Regions from separate parts of the Homo sapiens genome. Here regions 1, 3, 4, 5, 6 and 7 are each linked to region 2. Evidence: promoter capture Hi-C in 16 types of primary human blood cells and fetal thymus (Javierre and others, 2016). All regions are on one chromosome and are shown on one strand. Each heading gives the region's core, a stretch centred on a gene start or on the middle of the fragment in contact. The rest is flanking DNA. Distances are from core to core; before and after follow the strand shown.

Region 1 (3,074 bases), core at 191-2,690, 1.8 Mb before region 2:
TTCTCAAGTTTGAGACCAAAACTTTAGACATTAATATCACTTTGTCACCATCAAAAATGTACTTATTTAGACTCGAATCTCACTGTGAAACAGCAGAACTGTGGGTTTGTAAAGTGGAAATAAAAACTTCAGCTTATTATTTTGAAATTATTTTTATTTGTTTTTTAAAGTGTTAGAGTACAGGGGACCTCCTTGTGTTGAAATCTGCTATTTAGAGAAGAAAAACAAAACCTGGCCAGTTTTAGAATCTACCTGTTGCCTTAAATTTTTAGTTTAATTATGTCACATCCAGCATGAGTGACTCATTTTGGTTTGGTTTGTTTGGACCTAGTGCATAAGCTCAGTCCAGAATTATGGCCTCCAATAGTTTTCTTTAAAAAATTCCCCGTTTGGTTAAGTTCTTACATAGGTCACAGTGTAACCAAAACTCGGGGCTTTAGTGCCACTCTCAGTTTCCATTATTTTTGTTTTTTGTCCTTAGCATGTCATTCATAGGTTGTGCTGTCTTCATAGTCACATATGTCTTTGAGTTTCTGTCATTCCAGTTAAAGAGAGACCATTTGACATTCTACAGATGACTACATTCAAACGTTTACATCTTTTGAGAGAATACAGTGCAGTAGGAAGATTACCATTTTGACTATCAGGAGGATAATACCAAGAGTTTGAAGCATGCTTTTTAGCCAGGGTCCCCATGAACAACCAATTAAAGTTAAATAGATCAAATAGTTAGCTAGATAAATGATCTACTCATTTCATCTAATCAGCCTGTTCATGAATCATCTACAACTGCATCTCTGTAATACCGGCTGTAGTTCTCCATGGGCAACTATTAGCAACTGCACAGATATCTATTTATCCAGTAAGTAATCAAAAGAAATTATATTTAGCATAACTTTGTGAGAAAACTTAAAGTCTATTGTGTAAGCATAGTTTTTATGGTATAATCTGCTATAGAGCCCTATTGAGAGGGATAAATTTGTAACCATTGCCTCATTTACTCTAAACAGTGATACCCATTCAGAAGAGTAATGGCCTCCTGGCAATGCTCTTTAACCTATTCTGAATAAGTTCTTTTTAACTTATGAAATAGGTTAAGAGCAGTGGACCAATATTCTGTTTTTGATATTGTGAGAAAACAAATGTTTCATTAAAACTTCTCACCTACATTGGCCCTTCTTCTTTTACCTTTCAAGGAATAAGTTTCCTCATACATAATGTTGGCTGCAAAATTCTCTACATATAAGTATACCCCCATGAGTGCACACAAGAGACCACTTTTTAAAATTTCTGTGGTTTGTAGAACCATAAACAAACTGTGAACTAAGAGTGTCATGATAACGAGATGTCTTGATTTTTGATCTTGTGAAAAAAGCTATCTACATGGAGACGGCCATCTGCTTTTGAGGACAAACTTTCCTGGTTAGCTTTACCTTAAAATCTCCTATGGGTTTACAATTTCAAGAGTTTGGAGGGGCCCTTCTAAGTTGTGAGATTATCAATCCAATGTTCAAGGTCTTGAAGTCTTGCGTCAGTGTAGGTGGCAGGCAGATTCAATCTCTGGGTTCTTGATTATAAAGGGTTTTACTCTCCTCAGTCAGTAGACTAGTAAAGGCTTTCCTCACCTGGTGAAAATGTGCTTTGCCATAATGCATTAAAGCCTTGTTGAATTTAGTAATGTTAGACTTTAGTAGCAGAAGACACATGAGGTTCTATTACGCACATAGGCCTTCTAATGACTATTTTATAAGGGCCAACATACTTTTTCCACTCTAAGTGAATCTGATTGTCATCAATCTGCAATTACAAAAGCAATCCAGTCAATTTAGTTAGCTTTGCTCAATACTATTGTACCTGTAATACTGTGGCAGGCCAGACCTCACTAACAACTGTTTCAGTACTGACTGAGTGGTTAAGTTAAATATTAAAAGCCAGTGACCAGCCGGGCGCAGTGGCTCACACCTATAATCCCAGCACCTTGGGAGGCCGAGGCAGGCGGATCACAAGGTCAAGAGATCGATACCATCCTGGCCAACATGGTGAAACCCCGTCTCTACTAAAAATACAAAAAAATTAGCTGGGCGTGGTGGCATGTGCCTGTAGTCCCAACTATTTGGGAGGCTGAGGCAGAAGGATGGCTTGAACCCTGGAGGCGGAGTTTGCAGTGAGCTGAGATTGTACAGCTGCACTCCAGCCTGGTGACAGAGTGAGACCCCGTCTCAATTAAAAAAAAAAAAAAAGCCAGTGACCTTATACAAAGGCTGGGATGTAACAAAAGCCCATCAAGAGTTTCGCCTAGGCCTTTCTTGGGCCTTATAGGATTAAACAAGTTTTATTGGGGGTCTGAAGAAATTCCCCAGGCCTCTACAAACAGGTTTATTGGAGGTCTGAAGGAATTCACCAAACCACTGTGATTTAGCAGGAGACAAGATAAGGGTAATTACCCCAGCACCTGGACCCATTTAGATTAAGTAAATTTACTGAGGCTGCAGGGGAAGGTCTTCAAGACTCAGACCTTAGTTACAGATTAAATAAAAGAAGTTAATCACTTATCTCTTTAGATGAATGCACACTTACATGTAGACATATAGCTTAGAAGGTATATAGGCTCTGGAAAACGTTGTAATTTTGAGTTGGTCTGGTGATAATTTCCAGGCCTTCTCCCTGTAACTGGTTGCAGAAATAAAACTCTCTTCCTCCCCAGTTCATCTGCATCTCGTTATTGGGCCATGAGAAATAGCAGCCCAACTCTCAGTTTGGTCCAGGAACAATACCTTATTTAACAGTTTTACAACTTGTCTAGTGAAATAAGTATCTTGATCATTAGAGACCTTTCAGAAATGTCCCATGAAAAAAAAACATATTTTCTAATATTCTTTTAGCTACTATTATAACATCAGCCTTCTTGCATGAGAAAGCTTTTATACTATCAGAAAACATGCATTAAAAATGACAACTGTATAAAATTTCTGTATAAATGCTTAAATAGCCTATTAGGTAACAGAAATGTACATAAAGTATTGATTGTTTCTCAGAATTATATGTTTGACATAAAAAAATTGGCCTTAATCTGT
Region 2 (3,180 bases), core at 57-2,556:
AGTAGAGACGGGGTTTCACTGTGTTAGCCAGGACGGTCTCGATCTCCTGAACTCGTGATCCGCCCGCCTCGGCCTCCCAAAGTGCTGGAATTACAGGGGTGAGCCACCGCGCCCGGCCTAGAAGTATATAATTTCAAGTAAACACCAGTTTTTCATTTTTTATGTTAAAGTGGTAATTTCTTTTTTTTTTTTTTTTTTTTTTTGGAGACAGAGTCTCGCTCTGTCGCCCAGGCTGGAGGGCAGTGGCACAATCTCCGCTCACTGCAAGCTCTGCCTCTCCAGTTCGCGCCATTCTGCCTCAGGCTCCGGAGTAGCTGGGACTACAGGCGCCCGCCACCACGCCCGGAGAATTTTTTTTTTTTTTTTGTATTTTTAGTGGAGACGGGGTTTCACCGCGTTAGCCAGGATGGTCTCGATCTCCTGACCTCGGCCTCCCAAAGTGCTGGGATTACAGGCGTGAGCCACCGCGCCCGGCCTAAAGTGGTTTTTGTAATTCATTTTTCTTTTTTTTTTTTTTGAGACAGTCTTGCTCTGTTGGCCAGGCTGAAGTGCAGTGGAGCAATCTTGGCTCACTGCAACCTCCGTCTCCCGGGCTCAAGCAATTCTCCTGCCTCATCCTCCCGAGTAGCTGGGATTACAGGCATGTGCCACCACGCCCGGCTAATTTTTGTATTTTTAGTAGAGACGTGGTTTCACCATGTTGGGTCTTGAACTCCTGATCTCAGGTGATCCACCCGCCTCGCCTCCCAAAGTGTTGGGATTACAGGCGTGAGCCACCGCGCCCGGCTAGTATTTGTAATTCTTATCTATCACATTAAGGCTCTTGTCCGGTGTGGTTGTGTTCCGGGGCGGTCCCCGACCCCGCCCCTCACAAGCCCCGCCCCCCGCACCGGGCCCCGCCTCCTGAACTCCGAAGCTCCCGACCCCGCCTCCGCAGGGTCCAGGCTTCGCCCCTGGTGACAGGTGGTGCTGGTGTAGTCAAGGAGGAGGGCTCGCTTTTTTTGGTTCAGGTTGTCATGGTGGCGCCCAAGCCCGCCTTGCCGGCCTTGTCTTTTCCGGTCTCAGTCCGGCGTGGCAGCGGAGGCAGGCACCGTTAGGTCTTCCAGTCCCTCTCTGTCATGGCGACGCCCAGCCTCTTCTTCCGGCCACAGCCTGTCATGGCGGCACCCGAAGTAGTCCCTGCCGGGGCCAGCCTGTTCTGTTGCCCTGGCTCTTCCTAGTCCAGGCTGCCATGGCGGCGCTCAGGGCTTACCGGAAGTAAAACTTCGGAAGTGAGGCGTTCCTCTGCCCGGAAGTGAGCGCGGCGCTAGGAAAGATGGCGGCAGCGGCGGCGGTGGGCAACGCGGTGCCCTGCGGGGCCCGGCCTTGCGGGGTCCGGCCTGACGGGCAGCCCAAGCCCGGGCCGCAGCCGCGCGCGCTCCTTGCCGCCGGGCCGGCGCTCATAGCGAACGGTGACGAGCTGGTGGCTGCCGTGTGGCCGTACCGGCGGTTGGCGCTGTTGCGGCGCCTCACGGTGCTGCCATTCGCCGGGCTGCTTTACCCGGCCTGGTTGGGTGCCGCAGCCGCTGGCTGCTGGGGCTGGGGCAGCAGTTGGGTGCAGATCCCCGAAGCTGCGCTGCTCGTGCTTGCCACCATCTGCCTCGCGCACGCGCTCACTGTCCTCTCGGGGCATTGGTCTGTGCACGCGCATTGCGCGCTCACCTGCACCCCGGTAAGTGTGTACACGCGAGCCCGACCCCCAGCACGGTCGAGCCTCGCCGTGGGTCCCAGCTGCGGCCTTCCTGTCGGTCACCATCGCGACCTGGGCCACTCATCTGCCTGGCCTGGATTCCCAGGGGCACCCTCTACACTTTGGCGCAGGCTTAATCATGACCCCACTGCTGACTTGCTGTGCATGCCTGGTGCGGGTTATTTCCTTTTTCTGAAGTCCTCCCTGTTATGGTCATTTAGATTCAGTGATGTAATACTTGTAAAAGGCTTAGCGCAGGGCCCAGCATACGTCGCCCAGGTCAGGTAGGAGTTGTTTATACTAGTTCCCATATTAGCGACTACTCTTGTTCTGGAAACGGCCCTACCTTCCATCTCATCTGTCTCCTACCTTGGTTTTCAAAGTGTAAGGCGAGATCACTGGGATAGGTTTCCCCCATCTATGAAGCTTAGTTGGTTCTTAGACTGAACCAAGTCTTGCTGTCCAGTGCTTAGTGGTCTTCCATACTGTGATGGAAAGGAGCATGAAATGCAGTTAATTACAGTGTTGAAGAGAGGCAGAGGTGTTTATGAGCGAGTCATTTACATGATGTCTTTCCGCAAAATGAGGGTGGTGATACTGAGTTCTGTCGGGGATACAACAGCAAGCAAGGTCGCGCTCCTGACCCACAGTTTAGAGTTCTGAGTGACCAAGTGTCGTCGGAGGAGTTGGTGACTGTGAGCTTCCCTGGGCCTGAAGCAGTGACTGTGTCGTCTCTCTCTGGGCCTGCCTCAGGTGACACCAGCAGGTTTGGAGCCATGGACACTGAGGTATATCAGGAAGCTTCCCCTCTGATTCCAGGAGTGTGTTTGCCTCAAGAAGAGGAAAAGGGAACAGCATCAAGGGCTACAGAAAGACAGAAGCCCCCCACCCTGGCTGGCTCTGAATGTGGGTAGAATCCTCATTCTCCTCTCCTGAGAGACAACCTGTTCTGTCCTTCAAAAAGACTTATCTATCCCAGGGGAGGAGCTCAACGTGGTAGCTTTGAGGTAGTACAATGAAAGACACCAATGAGGGACAAAATAAAGGAGGGGTTAAGGGGACTGTGGCACCGCTCAAACTTCAGCTGCCTTTTGACCTGCAGCTAAGCAGCTTAGCTCTTAACTTCCTCTCCAGGGATGGAGAAGTGGGAGGAGCTGAACAGCCATCAGCCAGGAGAGGTGGATCTGGGTTTGATTCAGATCTCAGAAAGGGCCGCTTCTGCTCTCTGAGTTTCAGTTTCCCCCTTCTGTAAACTGAGAACCGTAACTAACAACTACTGGGTGCCATCTTGAGAAGCGGAGATGATATCTGCAGAGTGCCCGCCCTGGGGCCATCACAGCGTATAGCCTCTTGTACCTTTCTTCCGTGACGTCACGTTTGTAGTTATGTGATTGTTGTTATTTGCTGCCTGCTTTGGAGGCCCATGAACCACCCGTGCGGTGGCGCTTTGT
Region 3 (2,883 bases), core at 221-2,720, 1.7 Mb before region 2:
GTAAACAGCAGATTTGAACACAAGGAGGTCCCCTCTACTGTAATCCTTTAAAAAACTAATAACCTGAAGTCTTTGTTTCCACTTTTCAAAATCCACAGTTCTGCTATTTTAAAGTGGAATTTGAGACTAATTAAGTACTTTTTGTTGTTGTTGTTTTTGACATGAAGTTTCACTCTTATCACCCACGCTGGAGTGCAATGACACGATCTCAGCTCACTGCAACCTCTGCCTCCTGGGTTCAAGGGATTCTCCTGCCTCAGCCTCCTGAGTAGCTGGGATTAGAGGTGCTCACCACCATGCCCAGCTAAGTTTTGTATTTTCAGTAGAGATGGGGTTTCACCATGTTGGCCAGGCTGGTCTCAAACTCCTGACCTCAGGTGATCTGCCTGCCTCAGCCTCCCAAAGTGCTGGGATTACAGGCATGAGCTACCACGCCCAGCCTAAATAAGTACATTTTTTTTATGGTAACAGAGTGATATCATTATCTAAAGTTCTGGTCTATTTCTCAACATTGAGAAGATGTCCAAAAGGGAAAAATTATTAAATTATAGCCTAAAGCTGTTTCCTATTGTGTTTAATTTTGGTTAATAGGTTTTTTAATATATAGTAAATGGAAATCTAATTGGATATGTAAATAGACTGGAATCCATTTTTGTACCAACTGCTGTGTTGTTGCCAATAAGAGGACATCAACTGTTCAAACCATGTTCAAATAAGGCAAATTCCTGGCTTTAATCAATCTTGCTGTTTCTGTACCTCACTTTCATTATCTGAATGTCACTTTGCTTTGTCTGTCCATAAATATTTTTCTACCATGTGGCTGTGCTGGAGTCTCACTGAGCCTACTGTGGATCCACAGTCTGCCTGATTTGCAAATTATTCATTGCTCACTTAAACTCTGTTAAATTTAATTTTATTTCTCTAAAGTTTTTTTTCTTTTAAAAGTTTTCCAATTTTTTCTATGATGAAAAATATATAATGTGTTGTTCGGCTTTTTTTTTTTTTTTTTTTTTTGAGACGGAGTTTCACTCTTGTTGCCCAAGCTGGAGTGCAATAGTAGGATCTTGGTTCACTGCAACCTCAGCCTCCCGGGTTCAAGTAATTCTCCTGCCTCAGCCTCCCGAGTAGCTGAGTTACAGGCACTTGCCACTAAGCCTGGCTGATTTTTTGTATTTTTAGTAGAAACGAGCTTTCACCATGTTAGCCAGGCTGGTCTCAAACTCCTAACCTCAGGTGATCCACCCACCTCAGCCACCCAAAGTGCCGGGATTATAGGTGTGAGCCACTGTGCCCAGCCCAAATTTTTTCTATGATGAAAAATATATAATGTGTTGCTGGGCTTTGATTTTTTTTTTTTTTTGGAGGTGGAGCTTTGCTCTTGCCACCCATGTTAGACTTCAATGGCAGGATCTCCACTCATGGCAACCTCCGCCTCCTGGGTTCAAATGATTCTCCTTCCTCAGCCTCCCAAGTAGCTGGGTGTACAGGTGAGCACCACCATGTCCAGATAGTTTTGTATTTCTAGTAGAGATGGGGTTTCTCCATGATTGGCCAGGATGGTCTCGAACTCCTCACCTCAGGTGATCCACCCACCTTGGCATCTCCAAGTGCTGGGATTACAGGCATAAGCCACGATGCCCTGCCAGCTTTGATTTCATAAACTCAATCCTTAGCTATTTTTCCAAATTATTTTATGTCCTTTCAAATTGCTTCTGTAATTTATTGTATTTATTTATTTATTTTGAGACAGGGTCTCACTCTATTACCCAGGCTGAAGTGTAATGGTGTAACCCATCATGGCTCACTGCAGCCCCGACCTTCCAGGCTCCAGCAATCTTCCTGCCCCAGCCAACTGAGTAGCTGGGACTACAGACATGCACCATTATGCCTGGCTAATTTAAACTTTTTTTTTTCATGGAGACAAGATTTTACCATGTTGCCAAAGCTGCACTTGAACTCCTGAGCTCACGTGATTCTTCCATTTCAGCCTCTTAAAGTACTATGATTACAGGTTTAAGCCACCGTCTGCTTCTGGAATTTCTTGAGAGAATTATTCTCAATAATAAACAGTACCATATGGGCATGAATCTAAAGGACCTCTGTCCTCTATTGTAGAAGTTCCACTCTCCAGGATTTCAAAGGACTAGGGCAGATTCTGTAATATTGTTATCTATGGTGGTGCATGGGCTTTGAAGTCAGAATTTATTCTGAATCTCAGCTCAGCCACTTAGTAGCCGTTAGTCTTTGGACAAATTTCTTTCTGTGGAAGAGTTCTATAAACCACATACATTAAAAAGGGCAGAATAATAATGATTACCAAAATGGTAGCAATTTTTCATCCTCCTGTATTCTTGCCCATTGCCAGGTGCTTTTACAGTTGTTCCATTGAGATCCAGAATCTGTTTTCTGAACACTAGATCTGGCGGGTCGTACTTGCTCAGGGCAGTAGAAACCTGTGGACATGACAGTGGGCTAGTTTGGGGCCCAGGCTCAAATGGTCTTGAATGCTTCTGTTTTTATTTCAGAATGCTGCCATCTCCATGGGAAAAACCCACGTTGGCCAGTCAGAGAATAAGATACCATGGAAAGGAGAAAAAAAGTTGCCCCTGTTGACAGCTCCAGAAGCAGAAGCTCACTCCCAGAAACACAGCTGCTTAGTCAACAAGCAGCTGATGATACATGTCTAAAAATGCTCAGCTGAGACTAGAGAAATGGCCCCACTGAGCCCAGCCCAAATGGCTGACCATTTCAATTATGAGCTAATAAGTTTTGGATGGTTTGTTATGCTGCAATAGCTAACTAATACATGCACCCAGTGCAGACAGGATGCCAGGATTTAATGACAGATTCAGTACTACTTACCTTCACACAGTGGACACTCTA
Region 4 (3,232 bases), core at 267-2,766, 1.5 Mb before region 2:
GGTGCCATCTCGACTCACTGCAACCTCCGCCTCTCGGATTCAGCCATTATCCTGCCTCAGCCTCCCAAGTGGCTGGGATTACAGGCGCTTGCCACCATGCCTGGCTAATTTTTGTATTTTTAGTAGAGACGAGGTTTCACCATATTTACCAGGCTGGTCTTGAATTCCTGACCTCAGGTTATCCACTTGCCTCAGCCTCCCAAAGTGCTGAGATTACAGGAGCGAGCCACTGCACCCAGCCCTGATAAAATAGTGTTAAGCAAAGCTAACTAAATGGACTGGATTGTTTTTGTAATTGAGACTGATGACAATCAGATTCACTGAGAGTGAAAAAAATGTGTTGACTATTATAAAATAGTCATTGGATGTCTTATGCACCAGATAATAGAACCTCATGTATCTTCTGCTACTGAAGTCTAATATGATTAAATGCAGCAAAACTTCAGTGCATTATGGCAAAGCATATTTTCACCAGGTAAAGAATGCTTTTAATGGTCTACTGACTGAGGACAGTAAAACTCTTTATAATCTATAACCCAGAGATTGAGTCTGCTTGCCATCCACACTGCAGCAAGACTTCAGGACCTTGAACCTTGGGTTAATAATCTCATGACTCAGAAGGGCCCCTCCAAACATTTGCAATTGTATATCCATTGGAGATCTTAAGGTAAAGCTAACCAGTAAAGTTTCTTCTCAAAAGTGGATGGCAACATTGATATAGATAGCTTTTTTTTTTTTTTTTTGAGACAGAGCCTTGCTCTCTCATCCAGGCTGGAGTGCAGTGGTGTGGTGGTGGCTCACTGCAACCTCCACCTCCCGGGTTCAAGCGATTCTTCTGCCTCAGCCTCCCGAGTAGCTGGGACTACAGGTGTGTGCCACCATGTCCAGCTAGTTTTTGTATTTTTAGTAGAGTCGGGGTTTCACCATATTGGCCAGGCTGGTCTCGAACTCCTGACCTTGTGATCCACCCACCTCGGCCTCCCAAAGTGCTGGGATTACAAGCATGAGCCACCGCACCTGGCCCAGATAGACTTTTTTTTTTATAAGATCAAAAATCAAGACATCTTTGCTATCATACACTCTTTGTTCGCTGTTTTTTTCTTATGGCTCTACAAATGACAGAAATTAAAAAAGGCCTCTTGTGTGCACTCATGGCATACACTTATATGTAGAAGATTTTGGCTGGGCGTGGTGGCTCACACCTGTAATCCCAGCACTTCAGGAGGCTGAGGCAGGCAGATCGCCTGAAGTTCTGTGCAGTCACTCCAGGAGTGCACAGGAGTGCAGTCACCGCTCAAGAAAACCGATAACCACAGCCAGACAATTAGGGCCAAGGCCAAATAGCAAAATAAATGCCTTTAATCTATTTTCTCCATATCTAAACATTGGAGTTCAAGAGTGTGGACAGAACTGAAGACGTAGAGTTTTTTTCTCCTGTGGCCCCATCATCCTTTGTTAACTGCCTGATCTCTAAAAGGAAGGTGGGCAACAGGTGGCCAGCAGTGGTTTACCTGTGGTTATTTTATTCCTGCTGGCCTCAGCTCTTTCTATGGCCACTATCTGTTCCAACCTCGGAACTGAAGATAGATGTTAGTAGGGAGAGGCCCTTCCTTCCCCTCTGGCCCTTCACACCACTGACATCAGAGCTGCCATGTGTGGCTCCTGGGTGCCTGGAATGTGCTTGGTCTGAACTGCAATGTGCTAGAAAGGTAAAATATGCAGTTATTTTCAAAAATTTAGTTGCAAATATTTATATACTTCATTAATAATTACATATTCCTCACACATTAAAATGATATTTTGGATATATTGGCTTAACTACATTCTTACAATCAATTCAACCCGTTCTTTGTTTCTTTTTAAAGTTTGGCTACTAGAAAATTCAAAATTCACATGTGTCTCACATTCTATTTCAGAGGATTACCTCCTTTTTAAAATCTCAGGCTGCCTACTCAAAGGACTGTAAACCAGGAAGGTAAAAAAGCTGAATTTTTTTTTTTTTTATTTTTTCATGGAGATGGAGTCCCACTTCGTCACCCAGGCTGGAGTACAGTGGCATGATCTCAGCTCACTGTAACCTCTGCCTCCCAGGTATAAGTGATTCTTCTGGCTCAGCCTCCTGAGTGGCTAGGATTACAGGTGCACGTCACCACACCTGGCTAATTTATTTTGAGATGGAGTTTTGCTCTTGTTGCCCAGGCTATAGTGCAATGGCACAATCTCAACTCACTGCAACCTCCACCTCCCGGGGGTTCAAGCAATTCTCCTGCCTCAGCCTCCCGAGTAGCTGGGATTACAGGCATGTGCCACCACACCCAGCTAATTTTGTATTTTTAATAGAGATGGGGTTTCTCCATGTTGGTCAGACTGGTCTCAAACTCCCGACCTCAGGTGATTCACCTGCCTTGGCCTCCCAAAGTTAATTTTTTAGTAGAGGCGGGGTTTCACCATGTTGATCAGGCTGGGCTGGAACTCCTGACCTCATGATCCTCCTGCCTCAGCCTCCCAAAGTGTTTGGATTACAAGCATGAGCCACCACGCTTGGCCAAAAAAAGCTGAAATTTTAAAACATGTGTTATTATGTTATTTTCGTTTGTGTATAGCCATGTATATTTTTTTGAAATGGAGTCTCACTCTGTCGCCCAGGCTGGAGTGCAGTGGCATGATTTCTGCTCACTGCAACCTCCACCTCCCGGGTTCAGGCAATTCTCTACCTCAGCCTCCAGAGTAGCAGATTGGCTCCTGCAGCCCACATGTGCCACCTGCGCCACAGGTGCTGCCCACCATGCCAGGCTAATTTTTGTATTTTTAGTAGAGGTGGGATTTCACCATGTTGGCCAGGCTGGTCTTGAACTCCTGACCTCGTGATCCACCCACCTTGACCTCCCAAAGTGCTGGGATTACAGGCATGAGCCACCGTGCCTGGCCGCCATATGATATATTATTTACAAATGCGTATGACCTTATACGCAAGGTTGAATGCAAATATCCTCTGGGGTGGGTCAAGCTCACCTCAGGGAGGAAGCCCTGCCTGAGAGGGCTGCAGCCCATCATTTAATCATATCTTCTGTCACTCAGGGCCTGAGAGGGTGGGGTTTTAAACGTTATACAGGCTGGACGCCATGGCTCATGCCTGCAGTCCCAGCTACTCAGGAGGCTGAGGGAGAAGAATTGCTTGAACCTGAGAAGCGGAGGTTGCAGTGAGCCATCATGCCACTGCACTCTAGCCTGA
Region 5 (3,253 bases), core at 575-3,074, 1.4 Mb before region 2:
TTTCCAGAGACTGAACAAATAAGAAACTGAATCCCTGAATAGACCAATAACAAGCTCCAAAATTGAATTAGTAAGAAATAGCCTACTAGCCAAAAAAAAGCAAAGAACCAGACAAATTCCTAGCTGAACTCTACCAGATGTACAAAAAAGAGCTAGTACCACTTCTACTAAAAATACTTCAAAATATTGAAAAGAAAGGACTCCTTTTCAACTCATTATATATAAGAATAGCATCATTCTGATATCAAAACCTGGCAGAGATTAAAAAAAAAAGAAAACTTCAAGCCAATATCCTTGATGAACATTGATGAAAATACCATCAACAAAATACTGGGAAACTGAATTCAGAAGAACATCAAAAAGCTAATCCACTATAATCAAGTAGGCTGCATCTCTGGGAGGCAAGTTGGTTCCATATACAATCAATAAATGTTATTCATCACATAAAGAGAACTAATAACAAATACCAAGATTATCTCAATAGATGCTAAAAATACTTTCAATATAATTTAACATTTTTCATGTTTAAAACCCTTAACAAACTAGGCATTGAAGGTATATACTTCAAAACAATGAGACATCAACGACAAACTTACAGCCAACACACTGAATGGACACAAGCTGGAAGCATTCCTCCTTGAAAACTGGCACAAGATAAGGATGCCTTCTCTCAAACATCCTATTCAACATAAAATTGGAAATCCTGGCCAGAGCAATCAGAGAAGAGATGAAAATAAAAGGCATCTGCCGGGCATGGGGGCTCACGCCTGTAATCCCAGCACTTTGGGAGGCTGAGGTGAGCAGATCACGAGGTCAAGAGATCGAGACCATCCTGGCCAACATGGTGAAACCCCGTCTCTCCTAAAAATACAAAACTTAGCTTGGCATGGTGGCATGTGCCTGTAGTCCCAGCTACTCAGGAGGCTGAGGCAGGAGAATCGCTTCAACCTGGGAGGCGGAGGTTGCAGTGAGCCGAGATCACACCACTGCACTCCAGCCTGGCGAGAGCAAGACTCTGTCTCAAAAAAAAAAAAAAAAAAAAAAAGAAAAGAAAAGAAAAAAGGCATCCAAACAGGAAGAAAGGAAGTCTAACTATCCCTGTGTGCAGATGACATGATTCTATATCTTCAAAACCCTATAGTCTCAGCAGGAAAGCTCTTTAAACTAATAAACAACTTTAGCAAAGTTTCAGGATACAAAATACACGTACAAAAATCAGTAGAATCTCTGTACATCAAAACATCCAAGCCAAAAGCCAAATCAAAAACATAATCCCATTCACAATTGCCACAAAAAGAATAGAATATCTAGGAATACAGCTAATCAGAATGGTGAAAGATCCCTATGACAAGAATCACAAAACACTGCTTAAAGAAGTCAGAGATTGGCCGGGCACGGTGGCTCACGCCTGTAACCCCAGCACTTTGGGAGGCTGGGGCAGGCAGATCACAAGGTCAGGAGTTTGAGACCAGCCTGATCAACATGGTGAAACTCCATCTCTACTAAAAATACAAAAACTGGCCAGGCGTGGTGGCGTGCGCCTATAATCCCAGCTACTCAGAAGGCTGAGACAGGAGAATAACTTGAACCTGGGAGGCGGAGGTTGCAGTGAGCTGAGATCGTGCCACTGAACTCCAGCCGGGGCAACACAGTGAGACTCCGTCTCAAGAAAAAAAAAAAAAAGTCAGAGATTACGGCCAGGCATGATGGCTCATGCCTGTAATCCCAGCACTTTGGGAGGCCGAGGCAGGTGGATCATGAGGTCAAGAGACGGAGACCATCCTGGTCAACATGGTGAAACCCCGTCTCTACTAAAAATACAAAAATTAGATCCAGGAGTGCATCCAGAGGAAACCATGCCATGGATCTGGGGCCCACATTACTATCTCATAAAAAGTGTGATGACCAGGTTTATGGATCACTCTGTTCTCAATGACAGAAACTTCAGTCTGTATTAAGAAGATATGGCTGCAGAAAGACAAGATGAATTGTGGAAAGAGTACAAAGAGGGGGAAAGTAGGAGGTTTCCCAGTTCCAATGGCTGACTAATGGGAGGAGGAGATGGAGAAAGCAGAGTAAACTGATTGGACTGAAAAAAAAAAAAAAAAAAGTACAAAAATTAGCCAGGCATGGTGGTAGGCGCCTGTAATCCCAGCTACTGGGGAGGCTGAGGCAGGAGAAATACTTGAACCTGGTAGGTGGAGGTTGCAGTGAGCCGAGATGATGCCGTTGCACTCCAGCCTGGGCAACAGAGTGAGACTCCGTCTCAGATAAAAAAAAAAGGAGAAATGTCAGAGGTGTATTGAATCAGGGCAAATCCATTTCGAATAGGGGCTGGGTAAAATGAGGCTGAGACCTATGGGGCTGCACTCCCAGATGGTTAGGCATTCTAAGTCACAGGATGAGACAAGAGTTCAGCACAAGATACAGGTTATAAAGATCTGGGTGATAAAACAGGTTGCAGTAAAGAAGGTGGATAAAACTCACCAAAACCAAGATGGGATGAGAGTGACCTTTGGTGGTCCTCACTGCTACACTCCCACCAGTGCCATGACAGTTTACAAAATGCCATGGAGACATCATGGAAACATCAGAAAATGACTTTATATTGTCTAATTGGGAGGCAAAAATAATCCACCCCTTGTTTAGCATATAATCAAGAAATAACCATAAAAATGGGCAACCAGCAGCCCTCAGGGCTGCTCTGCCTATAGAGTAAGCCATTCTTTTATTCCTTCTGTTTCCTAATAAACTTGCTTTTACTTTACTCTGTAGACTCACCCTGAATTCTTTCTTGAGCGAAATCCAAGAACCCTCTCTTGGGGTGTGGATTGTGACCCCTTTCCGATAAGAACTCTGCACATTTTCTTTTTCTCATTTAAAAAAATCAGCTGAATTTGTCTTCAGTGGTCTAAATAAAATTTTTCACAGGCTCCTGAACTTGGAGCTACCCTCAATCTGAGCCAATATACAACTCCATTTTATGTCCCTCCTAAGAACATGCTGACTTCAGGGTAAAACATTCTCTGATCTAAAATCTGATTATTTCACCCTTCATTTGTCAGTCACCTCCAACTTCTTTTTTTTTTTTTTAAGATGGAATCTGGCCCTGTCACCCAGGCTGGAGTGCAGTGGCGCGATCTAGGCTCACTGCCAGCTCCACCTCCTGGGTTTACGCCATTCTCCTGCCTCAGCCTCCCGAGTAGCTGGGACTACAGGCGCCCGTGACCACGCCCGGCTGATTTTTTTGTAT
Region 6 (3,099 bases), core at 221-2,720, 1.8 Mb before region 2:
GTAGCTGGGATTATAGGCATATGCCACCACAGCCAGCTAATTTTTGTACTTTTAGTAGAGACAGGGTTTCGCCATGTTGGCCAGGCTGGTCTTGAACTCCTGACCTCAAGTGATCCAAACGTCTCGACCTCCCAAAGTGCTGGAATTACAGGCATGAGCCACCACGCACAGCCGGGGTTGTTGTTTTTCTACTGTAAATTTGTTTAAGTTCTTATAGATGCTAGACATTAGACCTTCGACGGATGCATAGTTTGCAAAAATTTTCTCCCATGCTGTATGTTATCTGTTTACTCTGTTGATAGTTTCTTTTGCTGTGCAGAAGCTCTTTTTTTTTTTTTTTGAGATGGAGTCCCGCCAAGATCGCGCCACTGCACTCCAGCCTGGGCGACAGAGACTCAGTCTCAAAAAAAAAAATTAAAGACTACATAAGAGACATTACGACATTTTTCAAACATTACCTTCAAATAAAGAGTGTTCTTCTCACATAATTATACAGATTCAAAATATAAGTAGATTGTGAATTTAGGATTATTTTCCCGACTACTCACCTAGACAGAATAATCATTGAAAACCATGGAAAGAGTATGTCATAAACGAAGTAGTGGCAACACAGATGAAAAACACATCGATATTTCTATAGATGACATACGGCTAATTCATATATAAATTAAGCATCACATTGTCTAAAATTGTACAGAGTTGAAAATTATCATTCAATTCATAATATCAAGCTTTGAAAGCAAAAATACAATTAACTGATCTAAAAAAACATACCCCCTCGAAAAGAAACACTAATGTAGAAATAAAAATAAGAGAGATTTTATTTATTTATTTTTTTGAGACGGAGTCTCGCTCTTGTAACCCATACTGGAGTGCAGTGGCGTGATCTTGGCTCACTGCAACCTCAGCCTACCGAATTCCAGCGATTCTCCTGCCTCAGCCTCCCGAGTAGCTGGGATTACAGGCACCCACCACCAAGCCTGGCTAATTTTTGTATTTTTCTTTTAGTAGAGAAGGAGTTTCACCATGTTGGCCAGGCTGGTCTCCTGACCTCAGGTGATCCACCCGCCTTGGCCACCCAAAGTGCTGGGATTACAGGGGTGAGCCACCGCGCCCGGCCAAGAGAGATTTTAACGCATAATATGCTGAATACAACATAGATATTAAAAATAATTCTTTAGATATCTACAGTTTTTAGCTGTGTGTACTCTTGCAGAGCAGGCATTCTGAATCATTGGCATTCAATGAATGGCAGCAAAATTTCACAGAAAAATGCATTACAATCAATAATAGGCTCTAATGAGAAAATTTAATAAATACGAAAAGTACGGCGGAAAAATTTATTTGTGGCCGAAAAGGACGGCGGAAAAATTTCTTTGTGGCCGGGCGCGGTGGCTCACGCCTGTAATCCCAGCACTTTCGGAGGCCGAGGGGGGCGGACCATCTGAGGTCAGGAGTTCAAGACCAGCCTGGCCAACATAGTGAAACCCTGTCTTTACTAAAAATACAAAAAATTAGCCGGGCATGGTGGCGGGTGCCTGTAATCCCAGATATTCGGGAGACTGAGGCTCGAGAATCGCTTGAGCCCAGGAGGCGGAGGTTGCAGTGAGCCGAGATCATGCCACTGCACTCCAGCCTGGAGACAAAAGCGAGACTCCGTCTCACAAAAAAATAATAATAATCAGAAAAGACTTAAGACCCCACGGGCAGCAGCCCCTCCAACGCATACACCGAGTGGGGATTCTGCCGATGACCCGCCTGTCTTCCCTGAACAACCCGGGAAATACTCGGGATTGCGGGTGCAGAGCTGCCCAGAGAGCCCCGGACTGGCGCCGCGCAGAAACTGGCGGGACGCTGTGGTCCTGGCTGCGAGTCCAGCCGCCATCTTGCGGCCAGAGTGGCCTGGAGCGGAGCTGTGCCAGCGGGGACTCAGGTCGGCGACCCAGGAGCGGACTGTGGGGAGGCCGGTCCAGCCGGTTTCACAGGCCGCTCTCCCATCTCGGGATGCTCAACCCGCACACCCACCGGCTGTGACAAAGTCACCTGGGGCTCCCGAGGTGGAGGACGCAGAATAGCAGAGACAGGCAACTAAAACTCTGGCAGGAGCGAGACAAAGGGCCCGCCAAATGCCGGAGGCCACGCCCTCCTCTCCAACTCCGCGCCTGATTGGGCGGTTCCCGCGCCAGCGCCACTGATTGGATAAAGCTTCAGGACCCACCTCCCAGCGCGGCTTCCCCAGCATTAGTGCATTTTATGGGCAGGGAAACAGGCTGAAGTAGGCAGGGTCACCTGCTCAGGGAATTACAGCTAATTAAGAAGTGAGCTGAGGCTTGAAATGCGCTTGCTCTTTCCCTTACCTGGGTCTACTTGTATAATGCATCTGAGTAGTTATTTTAGGGTAAAAAGAAAATTTGGACACCTTTTTAACAACTTTTTAATCATTTTGATAATGCAGGAAAAACCTTCATCCCATCCCTGAGCCCCTCTCTCACCATGCTGTACCACACTGCTGACCACATCGTGGGATGGCCATTAGGAATGGGGCGGGGGGGAGGTGGGCAGAGGGGGCTGAGAATGGGTAAGCATGAATTACGTTGGCCAAATGTGCTCATCTTAGAAAGGCTCCTCAGGCATTTTGTGTGAAGCGTCTATCCTTGGGGTAATTGTGCCCTGACTGCGCTGCATCTCAGTCTGACTTCTCCTTTTGAAAATCACTGGATTACTTTCATTAACGGGTGTGTTTCATTTTCTATTTGAAAATGGCCAGGCTGGGCGCTGTGGCTCACGCCTGTAATCCCAGCACTTTGGGAGGCCGAGGCGGGCGGATCACCTGGGGTCAGGAGTTCAAGACCAGCCTCAACATGGAGAAACCCCGTCTCTACTAAAAATACAATTAGCCAGGCGTGGTGGTGCACGCCTGTAATCCCAGCTACTCAGGAGGCTGAGGCAGGAGAATTGCTTGAACCTGGGAGACGGAGGTTGCAGTGAGCCGAGATCGCGCCATTGCACTCCAGCCTGGGCAACAAGAGTGAAACTCCGTCTCAAAAAAAAAAAAAAGAAAGAAAGAAAAGAAAATGGCCAACGGTTTTCTGTAGGTGT
Region 7 (3,026 bases), core at 6-2,505, 1.4 Mb before region 2:
AGGGGGGCTGGGCACAGTGGCTCATGCCTGTAATCCCAGCACTTTGGGAGGCCGAGGCAGGCGGATCACACAGTCAGGAGATCGAGACCGTCCTGGCTAAGACGGTGAAACCCTGCCTCTACTGAAAAAATACAAAAAATTAGCCAGGTGTGGTGGTGGGCGCCTGTGGTCCCAGCTACTCGGGAGGCTGAGGCTGAGATCGAGCCACCGCACTCCAGCCTGGGTGACAGAGAGAGACTCTGTCTCAAAAAAAAAAAAGAGAAGAATAATGTAGGGAAAAAGTAATACAGAGGTAAATTAAAGAAAACGAAAGCTGAGAACTTCCCAAATTTTGATGTAATAAAAAATTCTAACCAATAATATTTAATTCAAAGTTATTTTACTTGAAAAACAAAATAAAAATACAGACTTTCCTAAATTAAATTTCAGGGTGTTCACTATAAGAAATGTTACACGAAATGTAACAAGAAATGTTACACGAAATGTAACAAGAAATGTTGCACGAAATGTAACAAGAAATGTTGCAGGAAACGTAACAAGAAATGTTGCACGAAATGTAACAAGAAATGTTACATGGTGGCCAGACATAGTGGCTCATGCCTGTAATTCTACAGCTTTAGGAAGCCAAGGCAGTCAGATCTCTTGAGACCAGGAGTCCAAGATCCAGTCTGAGAAACACAGACTCTGCATATAAACAAATAGAAATGCTAAAATGAATCCATTTTGTTGAAAAATAAAATGATGCTAGACAGCATCATAAAACCATATATAAAGCTCCCTATTAAATATAAATATACAGATACATATAGAATTTTTTACTATCATAATGGTGCATAAAACCGTTAAAGTTCTGTAGATATAAAAATACAAGATATAAATCTGTTAATAGATACATAATATAATTTGTAGTATCAATAACAAACTGGAAAACATAGCAGTATAGGTTTTGTATTTAATTAAAGTTTAAGAAGTTAAAATATATCTTTTTTACTTTTTTTTTTTTTTTTTTTTTTTTGAGATGGAGTCTTGCTCTGTCACCCAGGCTGGAGTGCAGTGGCGCAATCTCGGCTCACTGCAACCTCTGTCATCTGGGTTCAAGTGATTATCCTGCCTCAGTCTCAGATGTCCTCCACCACATACCTAATTTTTGTATTTTTAGTAGAGACAGTTTCACCATGTTGGCCAGGCTGGTCTCAAACTCCTGACCTCAGGTGATCTATCCATCTCAGCCTCCCAAAGTGTTGGGATTACAGGTGTGAGCCACCATGCTTGGCCTTATTTTTTTAACTTTAAGATATTTTATGCCCCATCTGGGAGGGAGGTGGGGGGCAGCCCCTGCCCGGCCAGCCACCCCGTCCAGGAGGGAGGTTGGGGCCAGCACCCGCCCGGCCAGCCGCCCCGTCCGGGAGGTGGGGGGCGCCTCTGCCCGGCCGCCCCTTCTGGGAAGTGAGGAGCCCCTCTGCCCAGCCGCCACCCCGTCTGGGAGGTGTACCCAACAGCTCATTGAGAACGGGCCATGATGACGATGGCGGTTTTGTCGAATAGAAAAGGGGGGAATGTGGGGAAAAGATAGAGAAATCAGATTGTTGCTGTGTCTGTGTAGAAAGAAGTAGACATAGGAGACTCCATTTTGTTCTGTACTAAGAAAAATTCTTCTGCCTTGGGATGCTGTTAATCTATAACCTTACCCCCAACCCCATGCTCTCTAAAACATGTACTGTGTCCACTCAGGGTTAAATGGATTAAGGGCGGTGCAAGATGTGCTTTGTTAAACAGATGCTTGAAGGCAGCATGCTCGTTAAGAGTCATCACCACTCCCTAATCTCAAGTACCCAGGGACACAAACACTGCGGAAGGCCGCAGGGTCCTCTGCCTAGGAAAACCAGAGACCCTTGTTCACTTGTTTATCTGCTTACCTTCCCTCCACTATTGTCCTATGACCCTGCCAAATCCCCCTCTGCGAGAAACACCCAGGAATGATCAATAAATACTAAAAAAAAAAAAAAAAAAAAAAAAAAAAAAAAGATGTTTTATGTAATCTCCATTTTAAGATGATTACATTATACTTCAAGGTGATTACATAATATTTATAAAAAGTATGCAAAAAATGAAAAAATAATCAAAGCATGTAACGATAAAGTTAACAAAAATAAAGGTAGTAAAACAGGAAATGAGAAAAAACTTATCTACAAGAAATACATAAAACAGGAACAATGAGGTGGTTTCTGCAGATCAGCAGACTTAGTCTTTCCCCCTGCTGGCTCTGAGCAATCCAGGCAGTACAGATGTATGGAATTTCCCTCAGTGCAGCACAGCCACTCCACCAAGGTGCAGCCAGAGTGCTTTCTTAAGTGGTTCCCAGATCTCATGCATCCTGACTGGGTGAGACCCCCACAACAGACATCGTCAGACAACTTATAAAGTAGTGTTCCCACTGTCATCAGATCATTCCCCTTCTGGGACAAAGACCCCAGAGGAAGGAGCAAGCAGTCCTCTCTGCTATTCTGCAGGCTCCACTGGTTGACACCTCCAGGTGTGAGAGAAACCCAGGCAAATAGGGTCTGAAGTAGATCCCAAGCAAATCACAACAGTGCTACAGAAAAGTGGCCTGATGGTTAGAAAAACAAACAGAAAGCAACAACAAAAACAGCATGAACAAAAAAATCCTCACAAGCATCCCATCCAAAGGTCAGCAGCCTCAAAGATCGAAGCTAGAAAAACTCACAAAGATGAAAAGAATAAACCAAAAAATGCTGAAAACTTAAAAAGCCAGAGTGCCTCCTTTCCTCCAAATGATCCCAGCATATCTCCAGGAAGGGCACAGAACTGGGCGGTGGCTAAGGTGGATAAATTGACAAAAGTAGGCTTCAGAAGGTGGGTAATGATGAACTTTGCTGAGCTAATGGAGTATGTTCTAACCCAATGCAAAGAAGCTAAGAACCATGAAAAACATTACAGGAGCTGTTAACCAAAACAACCAATTTAGAGAGGAACATAAATGACCTGATGGAACTGAAAAACACAGC

What was found. The method cuts DNA at HindIII sites, captures the fragments that hold promoters and counts their contacts. A CHiCAGO score of 5 or more calls a contact.
Region 1: a contact is called between a fragment that was not itself captured here and the fragment with the promoter of ATP13A1 in region 2, in 1 of 17 cell types (erythroblasts). The highest score is 5.0, in erythroblasts.
Region 3: a contact is called between a fragment that was not itself captured here and the fragment with the promoter of ATP13A1 in region 2, in 1 of 17 cell types (monocytes). The highest score is 5.3, in monocytes.
Region 4: a fragment that was not itself captured here is called in contact with the fragment with the promoter of ATP13A1 in region 2 in 1 of 17 cell types (M0 macrophages); the score reaches 5.1 in M0 macrophages.
Region 5: a fragment that was not itself captured here is called in contact with the fragment with the promoter of ATP13A1 in region 2 in 4 of 17 cell types (M0 macrophages, monocytes, M1 macrophages and 1 more); the score reaches 8.9 in M0 macrophages.
Region 6: a contact is called between a fragment that was not itself captured here and the fragment with the promoter of ATP13A1 in region 2, in 1 of 17 cell types (monocytes). The highest score is 13.0, in monocytes.
Region 7: a contact is called between a fragment that was not itself captured here and the fragment with the promoter of ATP13A1 in region 2, in 1 of 17 cell types (M1 macrophages). The highest score is 6.6, in M1 macrophages.

The regions. Positions count from the first base shown.
Region 1 is chr19:21,499,994-21,503,067 of GRCh38, reverse strand. It overlaps LINC00664 (long intergenic non-protein coding RNA 664), which reads right to left. Exons shown (of 11, transcript NR_037194.1): 11 at 1-1,797. Among named protein-coding and RNA genes, the nearest start is that of ZNF429, 4.1 kb to the left of the region's middle. The HindIII fragment of the contact is 2,961 bases long and covers 1-2,920 here.
Region 2 is chr19:19,661,802-19,664,981 of GRCh38, reverse strand. It overlaps ATP13A1 (ATPase 13A1), which reads left to right and starts at 1,306. Exons shown (of 26, transcript NM_020410.3): 1 at 1,306-1,711. The coding sequence starts at 1,316. RefSeq lists silencers at 820-869, 1,310-1,569 and enhancers at 970-1,259, 1,603-1,704, 976-1,958, 2,090-2,139, 2,840-3,180 and 1 more. The HindIII fragment of the contact is 4,289 bases long and covers 1-2,157 here.
Region 3 is chr19:21,331,910-21,334,792 of GRCh38, reverse strand. No RefSeq gene overlaps it. Among named protein-coding and RNA genes, the nearest start is that of ZNF708, 3.9 kb to the right of the region's middle. The HindIII fragment of the contact is 3,203 bases long and covers 1-2,883 here.
Region 4 is chr19:21,135,693-21,138,924 of GRCh38, reverse strand. No RefSeq gene overlaps it. Among named protein-coding and RNA genes, the nearest start is that of ZNF431, 4.7 kb to the left of the region's middle. The HindIII fragment of the contact is 7,891 bases long and covers 1-3,232 here.
Region 5 is chr19:21,024,620-21,027,872 of GRCh38, reverse strand. The region is part of intron 2 of ZNF430 (zinc finger protein 430); the gene reads right to left. Among named protein-coding and RNA genes, the nearest start is that of ZNF430, 5.6 kb to the right of the region's middle. RefSeq lists an enhancer at 3,195-3,253. The HindIII fragment of the contact is 3,709 bases long and covers 1-3,253 here.
Region 6 is chr19:21,473,857-21,476,955 of GRCh38, reverse strand. No RefSeq gene overlaps it. Among named protein-coding and RNA genes, the nearest start is that of LINC00664, 8.3 kb to the left of the region's middle. RefSeq lists an enhancer at 1,808-2,461. The HindIII fragment of the contact is 1,474 bases long and covers 734-2,207 here.
Region 7 is chr19:21,047,163-21,050,188 of GRCh38, reverse strand. All of the region lies in intron 4 of ZNF430 (zinc finger protein 430), which reads right to left. Among named protein-coding and RNA genes, the nearest start is that of ZNF430, 28 kb to the right of the region's middle. The HindIII fragment of the contact is 4,673 bases long and covers 1-3,026 here.